2 separate regions of the Homo sapiens genome follow, and region 1 is linked to region 2. Evidence: promoter capture Hi-C in 16 types of primary human blood cells and fetal thymus (Javierre and others, 2016). All regions are on one chromosome and are shown on one strand. The core of a region is centred on a gene start or on the middle of the fragment in contact, and the rest is flanking DNA. Distances in the headings are between cores, read along the strand shown. Region 1 has its middle 21 kb from the start of CHST10. Region 2 holds the start of NPAS2-AS1 (NPAS2 antisense RNA 1).

The links. The method cuts DNA at HindIII sites, captures the fragments that hold promoters and counts their contacts. A CHiCAGO score of 5 or more calls a contact.
Region 1: a contact is called between a fragment that was not itself captured here and the fragment with the promoter of NPAS2-AS1 in region 2, in 1 of 17 cell types (total CD8 T cells). The highest score is 5.1, in total CD8 T cells.

The regions. Positions count from the first base shown.
Region 1 is chr2:100,435,589-100,442,092 of GRCh38, forward strand. No RefSeq gene overlaps it. Among named protein-coding and RNA genes, the nearest start is that of CHST10, 21 kb to the left of the region's middle. The HindIII fragment of the contact is 763 bases long and covers 2,815-3,577 here.
Region 2 is chr2:100,973,092-100,980,453 of GRCh38, forward strand. It overlaps NPAS2-AS1 (NPAS2 antisense RNA 1), which reads right to left and starts at 4,070. Exons shown (of 3, transcript NR_110213.1): 1 at 3,625-4,070; 2 at 2,194-2,322. It overlaps NPAS2 (neuronal PAS domain protein 2), which reads left to right. Exons shown (of 21, transcript NM_002518.4): 13 at 1,712-1,853; 14 at 2,367-2,476; 15 at 4,619-4,708. The HindIII fragment of the contact is 3,647 bases long and covers 3,573-7,219 here.

The DNA of each region.
Region 1 (6,504 bases), core at 1,946-4,445, 540 kb before region 2:
GCTTTGTACACCCAAAGACACTGTTTCAATGCTGCATTGTAGTTGTAAGGCTTTTCTTTTTAAATGAAAATTAAGAATCCAAATTCAAGTTAAAATTCAGCCACACTCAATGCCTGTAATCCCAGCACCTTGGGAGGCCAAGGTGGGCAGATTGCCTGAGCTCAGGAGTTCAAGACCAGCCTGAGCAATATGGTGAAACCCTGTCTCTACAAAAAATACAAAGTTAGCTGAGCGTGGTGGCGCATGCCTATAGTCCTAGCTACTTGGAAGGTTGAGGTGGGAGGATTGCTGGAGCGCAGGAGGTCGAGGCTACAGTGAGCTGAGATCATGCCACAGCATTCCAGCCTGTGTGACAGAGCAAGACCCTGTCTCTTAAAAAAAAAAGAAAATCAGCCACATATGGGTCCTCCAAAGTAATTTACCTAATTGAGGTGACAATGGGATGAACACTGCCTTCATGAATGAGTTTGTGCAGGCTGTGGCAACTATATTTTCTTCTTTCTGGTGGCCAGCAAATTTCTTTGCTATCAGTCGTAAGAGGCCAACAAGGATCCAAGTGATACCCTAATTCCTAGTAAGAGTCAAGGTAAATAATATCTTAGCAGAAGTCACTACTCTCAACCCTCTATTGAAACCACTCTATTAAAAGCCACTGATAAACAAAGTAATTTGTTCATAGATGTTTTTCAAGTGCATACTGTATGCCAGGTACTGCGCAAGGTTCTAGAGAGCCATAAATTACTAATAACAGTAGCGAACACTTACATAGTGCACACTGTATGCAAGCAATGTTTTTCAAACTGCACATAGCAACCTATTAGTGGGTCACAAAAATCAAGTTCGTGCTTCACACCCACCCATCATTTAAAAGAATAGAAGATAATTGAATCAGAAATAGTAGAGTGCTTCCTTCTTATGAAGGGTAAGAATTATTTCATAAGGCTGGGTGTGGTGGCTCACACCTGTAATTCCAGCACTTTAGGAGGCTGAGGTGGGAGGATCACTTGAGCCCAGGAATTCAAGACCAGCCTGGGCAACCTAATAAGACCCCATCCCTACTAAAAGTAAAAAATTAACTAGGTGTGGTGGCATGTGCCTGTCATCCCAGCTACTTGGGAGGCAGAGGTGAGAGGATCACTTGAGCCCAGGAGGTGGAAGCTGCAGTGAGCTGTGATTGCACCACTGCACTCCAGCCCGGGCAACAGAGTGAGACCCTACTAAAAAAAAAGGATTGTTTTACAAAACCTTTATTTTATACATACACTCACACACTTCACACACTCACAGATCTACGTGCACTGATCACAATATAACATGTATTTTGTATTGTTTTGGTCAAAAGTTTTAAAACCAGTGATATAGAGCATAATTACAGAAAAAAATATGCATTTTTTCACAATTTTAGACACATTACAAGAAAATAAAGTTATAGAGCAGTATTTCTCAAAAAGACAGAAAAGTCTTAAGTAAAATAATAGCAAATTGAATTCAATTATATAGAAAAGGGTTAATGCATCATGACCAAGTAGAGTTTATTCCAGGAATGCAAGGCAGGCTTAATATTTGAAAGGCAACCAATGTAATTCACCACATTAAAAGAATAAAGGCAAGAACAGTGTGATTATTTCAACAGATGCAGAAGGCATTTGATAAAATTAAATACCCACTCGATAGAATTCTCAGCAAACTAGACATAGAGAAGAAAATGTTCATAATCTGATAAAAGGCACCTACAAACAAACAAAAATAAAACCCACAAATCTTATAGCTAACACTATATTTGTTGGATGAACAAGGCAAAGCAATACACTATCGCCATTTCTATTCAACATTATGCTGGAGGGATCTTAGTTTAGAGAGAAAGAATAAAACTATCTTTACAAACAGATGAAATGATTGAGTACAGAGAAAAACCAAACGATTAGATATATTAAGTCGTTTAATCCTCACAACAACGCTATAGCTGCAGAGAGATTTTCTGAGATTAATATTTTCCCTTCTTTAAATGTTTGGAAGACTTCACTAGGGAAGTTTGCTGCTGAAATTCTTTTGTGAGAAAGTACTTAATTACAGACTCAATTTTTTAAACAGATATAAGTCTATTCCAAATTTTTATTTTTTATTTAAGTTTTAATATGTGGTGCTTTGGAGAAAATTTTTCCATTTATCCAAGTGATATGGTTTGGCTCTGTGTCCCCACCCAAATCTCATCTTGAATTGTACTCCCGTAATTCCCACGGGTTGTGGGAGGGACCCAGTGGGAGATAATTGAATCATGGAGGTCATTTCCCCCATACTGTTCTCATGGTAGTGAATAACCTCGTGAGATCTGATGGTTTTATCAGACGTTTCCGCTTTTGCATCTTCCTCATTTTCTCTTGCCACCGACATGTAAGAAGAGCCTTTCGCCTCCCTCCATGATTCTGAAGCCTCTCCAGCCATGTGGAACTGTAAGTCCAATTACACCTCTTTTTCTTCCCAGTCTCTGGTATGTCTTTACCACCAGCATAAAAACAGGCTAATCCACCAAGTTTTCGAATTTATTTGCACAAAGTTATCCATAATGTCTTACTATCTTTTAAATTATCTGTCAAATCTGGATTGAGGTTTCCCTTCTCATTCCTGACATTCACCATTTGTGTTTTCTCTTTTTTCTTGTCCAGTCTTGCTAAGATTTCTAATTTATTAATATTTTTTAAAATCCAACTTTTGGTTTTATTGATTTTCTCTGTTCCAGCCTATTTTATTAATTTCTGCTTTTATCTTTAATTCCTTCCACCTCATCCTTTTATTGCCTGTTCTTTTTGGTTTAGAAGCTTAGATTATTTATATCCAACCTTCTCTTTTCTGATATTTGTACTTAAAGCTCTAAATTTCCCTGTAAGTACTACTTTGGCTGTACCTCCTAACTTTTGATATATAAGGTCATCATTCAATGCTTGTTCTATTTAATTTGGCTCACTTTTTCTGTCAATGTCCAGTTATTGTTTCTCTTGTCTCGGGGAGTTCAGAAGTAGACAGCATAATTTTGCAAATGTCAGAGCAATATTCACATAGTTTCACAAATCGTTTTTCCTTATAATGTATCTAACAAAATATCTTTTGGCATTGAGTCCTGAAATGGTTTTGATCATGTTCTGATTCTTCCCTGCTTCTATAAAGTCTATGAGAAACAGCACCACAGAGTCTTTTAAAATATAAACTATTAGGCTGAGTGCAGTGTCTCACGCCTGTGATTCCAGTACTTTGGGAGGCCAAGGGGGGGTGGATCACTTGAGGTCAGGAGTTCGAGACCAGCCTGAGCAATATGGCAAAACTCCGTCTCTACTAAAATACAAAAATTAGCTGGGTGTGGTGGCATGTGCTGTAGTCCCCGCTACTTGAGAATCTGAAGTGGGAGGATCACCTGAGCCCAGGGAGGTCAAGAGTGCAGTGAACCATGACTGTGCCACTGCACTCTAGCCTGGGCAACGGTGTGAGACTCTGTCTCAAATTTGTGTGTGTGTGTCTGTGTGTCTCTGTGTGTGTGTGTGTGTGTGTGTGTGTGTGTAAGAGAAAGGGAGGAGACAGAGAACTAAGCTTTAATTTTTTTTAACATGCCCAAATTCCTACCTAAGGGGTCTGAGGAGTCACATCTTACAAACCATAAAGTCTCATCAGAGGGGTTTTTATTTTAAGCCTATAGAGCGAGGTCTGCATTCTAACCTGACTCTGGCATAACATCATATAACAAATAAGGCAAGAAGTCAAAACATTTTAACCCCAAATATGTTTCCTTGCCAAATCTTGAAATTGCCCTGCAAAGTTTTCTCTTGTGGGAAAAAAAATCGCATTCTATAGAGAATCCCCTTTCCCCTCTCTTTTTTCCTTCCTTGCTTTCCAGATCCAGGAAATCAGCTAAGAGCTAGGCACCCTTTTAGGTCCGATGAAACATTTAACAATCTAGGCCGGGTGCAGTGGCTTACGCCTGTAATCTCAGCACTTTGGGAGGCCGAGGCGGGCTGATCACGAGGTCAGGAGACAGAGACCATCCTGGCTAACATGGGGAAACCCCGTCTCTACTAAAAATACAAAAAATTAGCCCGGCGTGGTGGCAGGTGCCTGTAGTCCCAGCTACTCAGGAGGCTGAGGCAGGAGAATGGCGTGAACCGGGAGGCAGAGCTTGCAGTGAGCCAAGATTGCGCCACTGCACTCTAGCCTGGGCGACAGAGCAAGACTCCGTCTCAAAAAAAAAAAAAAAAGGAAAATCTTGATATTGCTCATGTAACCTTCAGAGTTCAATCAAAGAAGCACATGGCCACTGGGAATGATATAGAGTATGAGACCTATTACAGGGCTTTGCCCTATAATAAATCTCAGGAAAGAAAAGAAGAATGTAACAGGGCAGGCAGGGACAAGCTGGGACCCACAAGGAGGGACTCCCACCAGCATCTGCCTCCTCTCCCGCCTCCACACCTCAGACTTGGGTGATGCGTGTGACCAGAGGGAAAGGCTGGTGCCCTTTGCCACAGAGCTAAACATGTACCTGGCCCAGGAGGCAGAGAATCCCGAGGAGAAATTCAGCAGGACTGGAAGAGCTGTGGATCAGCTGCTGCCCCACACCGAGGTGTGCCCGCAAAGCCGCAGCACCGTTCATGGGCTGCACCCGCGCGCGACACCTGACTCACTACCGGTCTTCCTACTACTTCACTTCCAGCCTCACACACGTGCCTCCCATGGCCACACAGAAAGGGGAATTCTAGCCATACGGCTTAACTACTTTGCCCTGGTAAAAGCCACCGCAGTGCCTATTTACTACTGACCTGCTGGAGGATCATGGACAAAGTGACTTATCCTCTGTGGCTCCCCAAACCTCTCCACCGTAATCAGAAAACAGCACTAGCCCCTTCTTGCTGGGTACATATAGAGTAAAAAATGAGAAAGAACAGAAAAAATTTTAGGCGACTGTTTGTATTCATTTTGTACCATCATTTTAAGTTGTTTTACGTGCATTGGTTGTTCTCTGAAATAGGCCTGTGTGTGGATATGCTGCTTAATGTGAAGCCAACTATTAAAATAAAATGTTAAGATCCAGTAGAAAGAAGCATGTGTATGTGAGCCAAGAATAGCCCTTTAGGGTATGTAGCCATCCCTGAAGAGCAAGTGAATACCTTGGGACTTCCAACCATGGGAAAAGCGGGAAAACACTGATAATGTTTTATCATTGGTAAATATCCCAACAGGGAGAAAATAATGTCGTCTAGAGTTTCTAGCTGACATGCATCAGGAAAGACATTGTGTTGACATTTGACACAAAGAATGCGTAGGATCTGGGCAACAGGAGATGTGAAAAGAAGACATTTCAGGTGTAGAGAAAGGCAGGAGCAAGCATTGGAGTTGGGACAGTGTAGGGTTGATTGGGCTGGTGCCCTCAGATAAGAAGGGGAACAGTGAGCTGGGAAACAACGGTGAGAGAAAGCAAAGGGGGAAGAGCCCCTTATAAAACCATCAGATCTCATGAGAACTCACTCACTGTCACGAGAACAGCATGGGGGAAACAGCCCCCATGTTCCAATCACATGGGAAACAGTGATAATATTTCTCTTAACTATGTATGAAAACAGCAACTCACAACTCCCTCCTCTGTCAAGCTGTAAACATGGCAAGCAGATTCCCTTTCACAATAATCATGCCCACTGAACCCAAGTGTGACTTGTTATCATGTGTTGAGTGTCTACTGTGTGTCAGGTCCTGGGCCAAAAATTGTGGGATTTTTTTTGTTGTTGTTAATTTAGAGGGATATTTAAAAAATTTCCTTCTTTATAGATTTCTAATTTCATCCCATTGTAGCCAGAGAAGGTACTTTGTAGGATATCTGTTTTTAAAATCTGTTGAAACTTAACTTGTTGCTTAAAATATGATCTGTCCTAGAAAATATCCTGTGTGCATTTGAGAAGAATGCGTGCTCTGTAACGGTAGGGGCTCTGAATATGTTTGTTTTATCTAGTTGGTTTATTGTGTTGCTCACGTCCTCATGGGCCCCACTCAGACCTAATCTACAGGTTCAACAAAATCTGCAAGTAATTTATGTGCACATTATATTTTGAGAAGTAATATTCTATATATAATACTATCCTACACCACAAAATAAGGTTGGGAGGTCAGATACTCTTCTATTCAAATTAGACACTGATTTTTTTCTGGGCTTGATCAGAAGGTGATCTAATTGATAGTCCTTATTTAATTTAAGCTTTGCCTGGTGTAAGCTTCCAGGATCTAGTTCCCATGCATGCTTGGAGTAGCATACCTGTTACATAGTTTGAAGTTATATGTTTGAAACTTCCAGTGGACATGCCAAAAACACAGTGATTGTACCTTCCTCGAGAGAGATGTCTCTGATCTTTTTCTTACTCTCTAATCTGATGGATTTTCTAAAAGCTTGCAAATGAAACAGGGTACTATCAAAACATATGGTCAAATTTTAAAAAGCATAACTGTAAATTATTCAAACCACCCTCTCTCCAG
Region 2 (7,362 bases), core at 2,820-5,319:
TCGCTTCAACCCAGGAGGCAGAGGTTGCAGTGAGCCGAGATTGCGCCATTGCACTCCAGCCTGGGCAACAGAGCGAGACTCCGTCTCAAAAAAAAAAAAAATACAAACACAATCTTGGGCACTGGGTTAAGAAATCCCTTTAAAGTAAAAGCTCCCAAACTATCCGTGGTATTGAACCAGTTTGGTTTTTATAGCTTCGCTGTCTGTCACTGTGCAGTGCATTTGTAAAATGCAGATTCCCGTGTGTGGACGTGATGTGCAGAGATGTCAAATGGGCATCAAGGTTCCTCCGGGCTTATTCTCGCTTCCTGGACCGACTTCTCTGCTGACTAGGAACACATAATTCACAAACAGCCGTGGTCCAGGGACCCCGCTCTAAGGAGCCTGGTCAAAGGCAAACTGTAACCAAGCAGCAAGGTCCCCAAATTGCCATTTACCTCAGCACATCCAGCCACATCTGGTATTTCTGTTTTGCACAAAGGCCTGTAGGTCACATGTCAGTCACTTCATTCCTACTGTAGGTGTACAATATCCACCCCCACTGCAGCCGTGACACAAAAGACAAAACGGCCACGCAGACGCACGCATGGGATTTCATACCCAAGGCCATGGGACACAGACCAGCCCATTGACATAGCCCAGAGATGCTGGCAGTTTCCATTCTTCTAACACTAGCTAGGAATGCGGCTCAGGAGGGTAATCACTGTTTTGTTTTCTTCTTTAGCTTAAAAATTATCCCAACCTTTGTTTGGTTTATTATTATTTTTTTAGACAGAGTCTCACTATGTTGCCCAGGCTGGAGTGCAATGGCATGATCTCAGCTCACTGCAACCTCTGCCTCCGAAGTTCAAACCATTCTCCTGCCTCAGCCTCCCAAGTAGCTGGGATTACAGGCGCCTGCCACCACGTCCAGCTAATTTTTGTATTTTTAGTAAAGACGATGTTTCACCATGTTGGCCAGGCTGGTCTCGAACTCCTGACCTCAAATGATCCGCCTGCCTCAGCCTCCCAAAGAGCTGGGATTACAGGCGTGAGCCACCGCACCCAGCCCCAACCCAGCCCCTGTTTTCATGTGCCTATAACAGCTAAGCCACAGAGGATGGAAAAACGGTCCTTCGGAGTCAGACTGTCACAGCTGCTTTCTCGTCACACTGTATTTGAAGCAGAGACATCCTGGGAGCCAGGGTCAGTCAGGAGCGAGAGGTCGAAAGACAGGAGACCCCTTGCCCTCCCCGGTTCTCCACTCCAGGGGACACTGAGGCTGCAGAGAATGAGTAACAGGAGAAAGCCTGGGAAGGACCCAGGAAGGTCCAAAGGCACCTGTCCCAGTGGATGAGTTTACAGTCCACTGCCAGCAGCAACCTTATTTCTAGAACCTCCTTCCCCCTTCTTGGAAAGTCAAGATGCTGGGTGGTGAGGTGACAATGTTGAGGAAATAATAAAATGGAAAGTCAGTTACGAAAATGTAAATAATAAAAACAAAAGGCGAGAAAGGGTAATAAACGCTGCTTTTCGGCTGCAAGCCTCTCTGAGGCTTTAGGTTACGTATATGTATATACTCTACCCAAGCATCTTTGGAATCGTCCCCAAACAACTATGGTATTTGTCTCAGCAGCTTCTGAGGTTGTCGACATATTTAGAACTAAAGTCACGCCCACTGATTCTTTCCTCTTGATGCTGACATGAGGACTGTTTGATGTGTGTGTTTCAGGACAAGGGCTCAAGCCTGGAACCTCGGCAGCACTTTAACACACTCGACGTGGGTGCCTCGGGCCTTAATACCAGTCATTCGCCATCGGCGTCCTCAAGAAGTTCCCACAAATCCTCGCACACAGCCATGTCAGAACCCACCTGTGAGTGCGAGTCCATGGATGGGGAGTGGGATGTCCACATCAGACCAGAGGGACAGCCCCACAGAGGGTCCCGGGCCCAAGTGGAATCAGGGCAGTCTGTGCCTCCGACAGAGGTTGCCGTGCAGTTTATACTCCTCCTTTCCTTTCCCAGACTTCCCGCCTCCTGATCACCTCTCCACACTCTGGTATCCATTCATTGCCAAGCAAAGACATTGAGTGGGTTGTGCACAGATCTGATCCCTTGACTGCTTTTAGTAATTCTGGGGAGGCGTCTGATCAGGCAGCTCATTGGACCAAGCAGCCGAAATGAAGTTTAGGGAGTGTTTGTGGTGTCTCCTACCTGCTCCCAGGCTGGGCTTCTGTGGTTCAGCTCAACCCTGCATGGTGGACTTCCTTTATCAGAGATCCCAAGCGAGCTCTTGTACTGTGCACACCACGGTCATGGGTCCCCTCTTCGGATGAGTACATGCTAAGTACATGGAAGTTAGAAGGTCATTCGTTGCTTTCTTACAGCCACTCCCACCAAGCTGATGGCAGAGGCCAGCACCCCGGCTTTGCCAAGATCAGCCACCCTGCCCCAAGAGTTACCTGTCCCCGGGCTCAGCCAGGCAGCCACCATGCCGGTAAGTGTGTGACCCCAAACTCCTCCACGGGTGTACGCTACAATGTGGTGGGGGCTGCAGAGCCAGGCGATGTGCTGCGTCTCCCCAGAGAATCCGTTTTACTTAGGGATTGAGAGTGTAGGGTGGCAGATGGGGGTGGGAAGTTAAGTAATTTAATTGGCAACTAATTTTAAACATTTGCATGACAAAATTAACATGGATGCATATCCATTAGAATACAAAATCCAAGTGAATTTTAAGGATTAAAGGCAAAACTGCAAACCCGGGGTCATACCCTCATACCCCCAGAGCCCCTGGGGCTACACAATTAGGATTCTTCTGTTTTGAATCCCCTTTCATGCTGGTGAAAATATTTGAGCAGCTCAGTGTCAACAAAAATGTACCTCTGCACATATCAGGTAGCGTCCCCAACATGTGCCAGATCCTTCCAGAACATCGGGATGTATGGCCCTGGCTATATGTAAAGTCACTGGCATGCACCACTCTGGTCATCTATTGCCAGGTAGCAAACTACACCTAACTTAGTGGCCTAAAGCAACCACATGTATGAAGTTCATGGAGTCTGGGTCAGGAATTCAGAAAGGGCATCATGGGGATGGCACTTCTCTGCTCCTTGGTGTCGGGGATCTCGTGGGCCTAGGCTATGGAATGCACCCACCAGATGGTGTCTGCACATGAATGTCCAGCAGCCGGGCTGGGTGGCTGAGGGCTGGGCTCAGCTGAGGCCATCCGTCATTGACTTGCATGGGCCTCTCAAGCCTTAGGCTTCTCCTGGCATGGTGGTGGACTCCAGGTTCCAAGAGGAGACACCTGGAGACGCAGGCAGGAACCATGCAGACCTCTGTGACCTAGCCACGGAAGTCATATAGTATCACCACTGCCATACCTCTTGGTCAAAGCAGCCCTGAGCTCACCCATGAAGAGGGATATAGACCTCCACTTCTAGACGGGAGAAGTACCCAGGAATTTTAGGGGCCACCTCCAGATAGTTGCCAAACCCCTCCCACCCACACTTCACTGTCACTTTGGAGATGGAGTGAACGTGCCACCTTCCTGCTTGCTGTCTCCATAAAGGCTGTGCACACCCTGCTTGAGAAGCTTGGGCGATGCGTTTTATTTTCAAGTAGAATGTGGCAAAGACCACTTACTTTCTCTCCAGCCACCTCCAGATGCGCTTGCAAGCTGTGCCTGCCATTCTTCCAGACTCTCCTGTCCAGTGTGACTCACTTTGCCAACAACGGAGGCCCAGAGTGCTTCTGTCTCCTCCCAGCTGCGCAGGGAAACAGAACCCAGACCAGCTTCTGGATCAGCCCTGTGCCTGGGATTTCTCACTGAAACAAGGTCTCCTGGTGTCATTTCCTCCCAATGCTGTCCTGGGTGACACTTTCCATTTGAGCTGCTTTTTTATATAGGCCCTAGCAACTAGGGGCCGTGTCGGAATAACTTCAGACGAGTCCTTTCACTGTTCTTTAAAAAAAAAAAAAACCACTAGAAAACCACTAGCCCGTGAAGCAGAGTGTTTCATTTCTTGTTACTATACATTGTCTCCCCCACCCACCCGAGTGATCAGGGAGCGCAGATGTGACTCAGCTCACTTCCCAGGAGTCTCTTAAAAGGTTCTGGGCAGAGGCTGGTGAAACTGCCCCAGTCCTCACTGCCTGGATGAGTTCATGGACAAACATGCATGGCGTGTCTGTCCATCTGCATTAGCGCTGAGCAGAAAAGATACGGACGCACAGCAGCTCATGGTAGCAGTCCACGCACGTCGTCCTGCTTGATGACACCGCTAAGAATTAATCCATTTGGGAGGAGAGCAACCAAATCCACCCAGGGCGGAGTCCAGGACAGCAGGCAAGGGAAGGGAAGTAGAGCTGAGCTACCAGGCTTGGGCAGGTAGCAGCAGCCTGGCAGAGCACACTGTGGTGGGGTGGAAGCCTGCACCAGTTGTGCAGGGGCTCTGCCCTTGTGCCCTGCGTAGGAAGCAGTGCAGCCAGGGAACAGACACCTATACTTTCTAGAACTCTTGACTTGGAGCTGTTCACCCCAGTGCGGAACGCAGAGAACCCACCGGACCAAGAGACCACATCCCTGTCCCCTGGAATGGCAGAAGCAGTGGTAACAAAGCCCCTTTCTCTCCCACAGGCCCCTCTGCCTTCCCCATCGTCCTGCGACCTCACACAGCAGCTCCTGCCTCAGACCGTTCTGCAGAGCACGCCCGCTCCCATGGCACAGGTGAGTCTGGGACCCAGGAAAGGGCAGCCCCTCTCAAGCCAGAAGTCCGCAGTGTGCTGCGCTGATGGTCTTGTACACTTAGGTCCCAACCAAGGCCCTGACGTGGGGGAATGTCCCTCCCAATGTGTGTGTGGCCTGTGTCGAGCCATGAGGTTCCCCCCACACCCACCCTCTCGTCTCCAAGTTCTTTTTTCCAGTGTCTGGGGTTTTCTTTTTTTAAATTTCAGTAGTTTTGAGGGAACAGGTGGTGTTTGATTGTATGGATAAGTTCTTTAGGGGTGATTTCTGAGATTTGTGTACCTGTCACCCGAGCAGTGTACACTGTACCCAATATGTAGTCCTTTATGCCTCACATCCCCCCACCCTTGCCCCACCAGTCCCAAAGTCCATCATTTCATTCTTATGCCTTTGTGACCTCATAGTTTAGCTCCCACTTAGAAGTGAAAACATACGATATTTGGTTTTCCATTTCTGAGTTGCTTCATTTAGAATAATGACCTCCAGCTCCATCCAAGTTGCTGCAGAAGTCCAGAGTCTGTTTTTTTAATTCTTTTAACAGTCTCTGTTCACCTCTTTGCCACTTTTCCACATTCCTCTTGTTCTTTACGACTCCAAATTGGCCATGGTATTTTAGAAAAGGTCTGAATTGGGCTGCATGTCATAGAAAGACTGAAAGGATCTAAAAGCCGTGAGTCCAGCACTATAAATATCACATTTGTTTAAAAAAAAAGAAAGAAAGAAAGAAAGAAAGAAAAGAAAAGGATTACGGCTTTGCTGAGTAATTCCATCCTTGTTTCAACAACATTCGGTGAGTTACTATTTGGGTCAGTCAGTGAGCGAGGTGTTAGGGATGTAAAGATGTAAGTCAGCCCTTGCTTTTAGTTCTCAGAACTAAAGGGAGAGACAGGCATGTAAACAGAGACGCCGCCGTGGCAGGGCATGCGTTTTTATAGAACCGTGAAGGAAATATTCTACCCAGGGAAGTCTGACGTGGCTTCCTGGAGGAGGTGACGCTTGAGTTGGCCCCGGAAAGGTGGGTAGGAGGTTGCCAGATGGTTTGGCAGGGGGACAGCAGGGATGTGCTTCAGCAGGGAGTTCTGAACACGGGGAGTGACAAACCCTGCCCAGGCCTGAGCTCTGACTTCAGTTCCCTCATAGGAGACTTAGCTCTGCCCAGACCATGGCCACAGGCTAGAGCTGCGTCCCAGACGGCAGTTCAGCAGCAGGTGCCCCTCTCTGTCTTGGCACACATCTGTCACCACTGATGAAAACTATTTCGGAACATATGCCCTCTTAGTGGGGGTCTCTCATGCATTCCTGGAGTAAGACACATGCTAACGCGTGCTGCTTGCCAGAGTCAGGCTTGAAGATTGGTGTAAAAAAGCTACCCTTCTGGAATCTACTCATTAAAACTGCCTATATTCACCCTCATTAGGCCAAAAGAAAAAAAAACCTGAATACTGTTTTTCTCTTTAAATTTCCAAGGCCTATTTGGTAAGAAATTAGTAACCTTTTAATCCAAAGGGGCATAAAATGAAAATGTCTTTAACTTCTGGGTCTTGCATTATGAAGAATGTCTGTGTTTACAAGACACGATGGTGTGATGCAGTCTCTTTTGGAATTCTGATTTTTCATTTATTGAACTTCTTAGTCTGTCATGTGTACTATATTTAATAATAACTATATATATATATATATATATATTTTTTTTTTTTTTTTTTTTTTTTTTCTGAGACGGAGTTTCACTCTTTTTGCCCAGGCTGGAGTGCAATGGCACCATCTTGGCTCACTGCAACCTCCACCTCCTGGGTTCCAGCGATTCTTCTGCCTCAGCCTCCCAAGTAGCTGGGATTACAGGAATGCACCACTACCAGGAATGCACCACTACACCCAGCTAATTTTGTATTTTTTGTGGAGACGGGGTTTCGCTGTGTTGGCCAGGCTGGTCTTGAATTCCTGACCTCAGGTGATCCGCCCACCTCAACCTCCCAAAGTGCTGGGATTACAGGCGTGAGCCACCACGCCCAGCCAATAACTATATTCTTTAAGACATCCCTGCATAATACTGACTTTCCAAGTCACACAGTTCTTCCCACTTCATGTGAAATACCCACTTCATGTGAAACAACGAGATTCTGGGATTTTTCTCTCACTCCCCTCACCCTTCAGGGAAAGAAGGGAAAAATGAAATCCAAAATCTGAGGAGCGGTTATCTGGGTAACTGGTGGTTTTCCAAAAAAGCCTCTTTCTTCATACTATGGTTCTAAAATGTCTTTAAATTAGAGTAGCTCTCTTTATCAAAAACATCACCATCAAGAAGGTAAGGAGGGCCTAATGATGGGGTGTCTGGGAGGCCTTGAAAAAATCCGAATAACGTGAGAGGCAGCCACCACCTCCTAACCCAGCCCATCGCCACTCCCTTTCCAAGCCAACTGGGCACCGATGAGCCGCCTCCACTGCAGGTGGAAGGGGCAACGCTGAGTTTCCCGACTTCGTAGAACCTGCCAGAGAAGCTTTTGTGTTTCGTTAAATACTTGGAATAGCTCGTTTGCTTTCTCCGTTGAATTCCCTTTCAAAATCCTCACAGAGTGGTCTGATTAGTCACAATCTGACTGGGATTTTTGTGAGTCTGGGATAGCGCAGGGTTTTTTTTA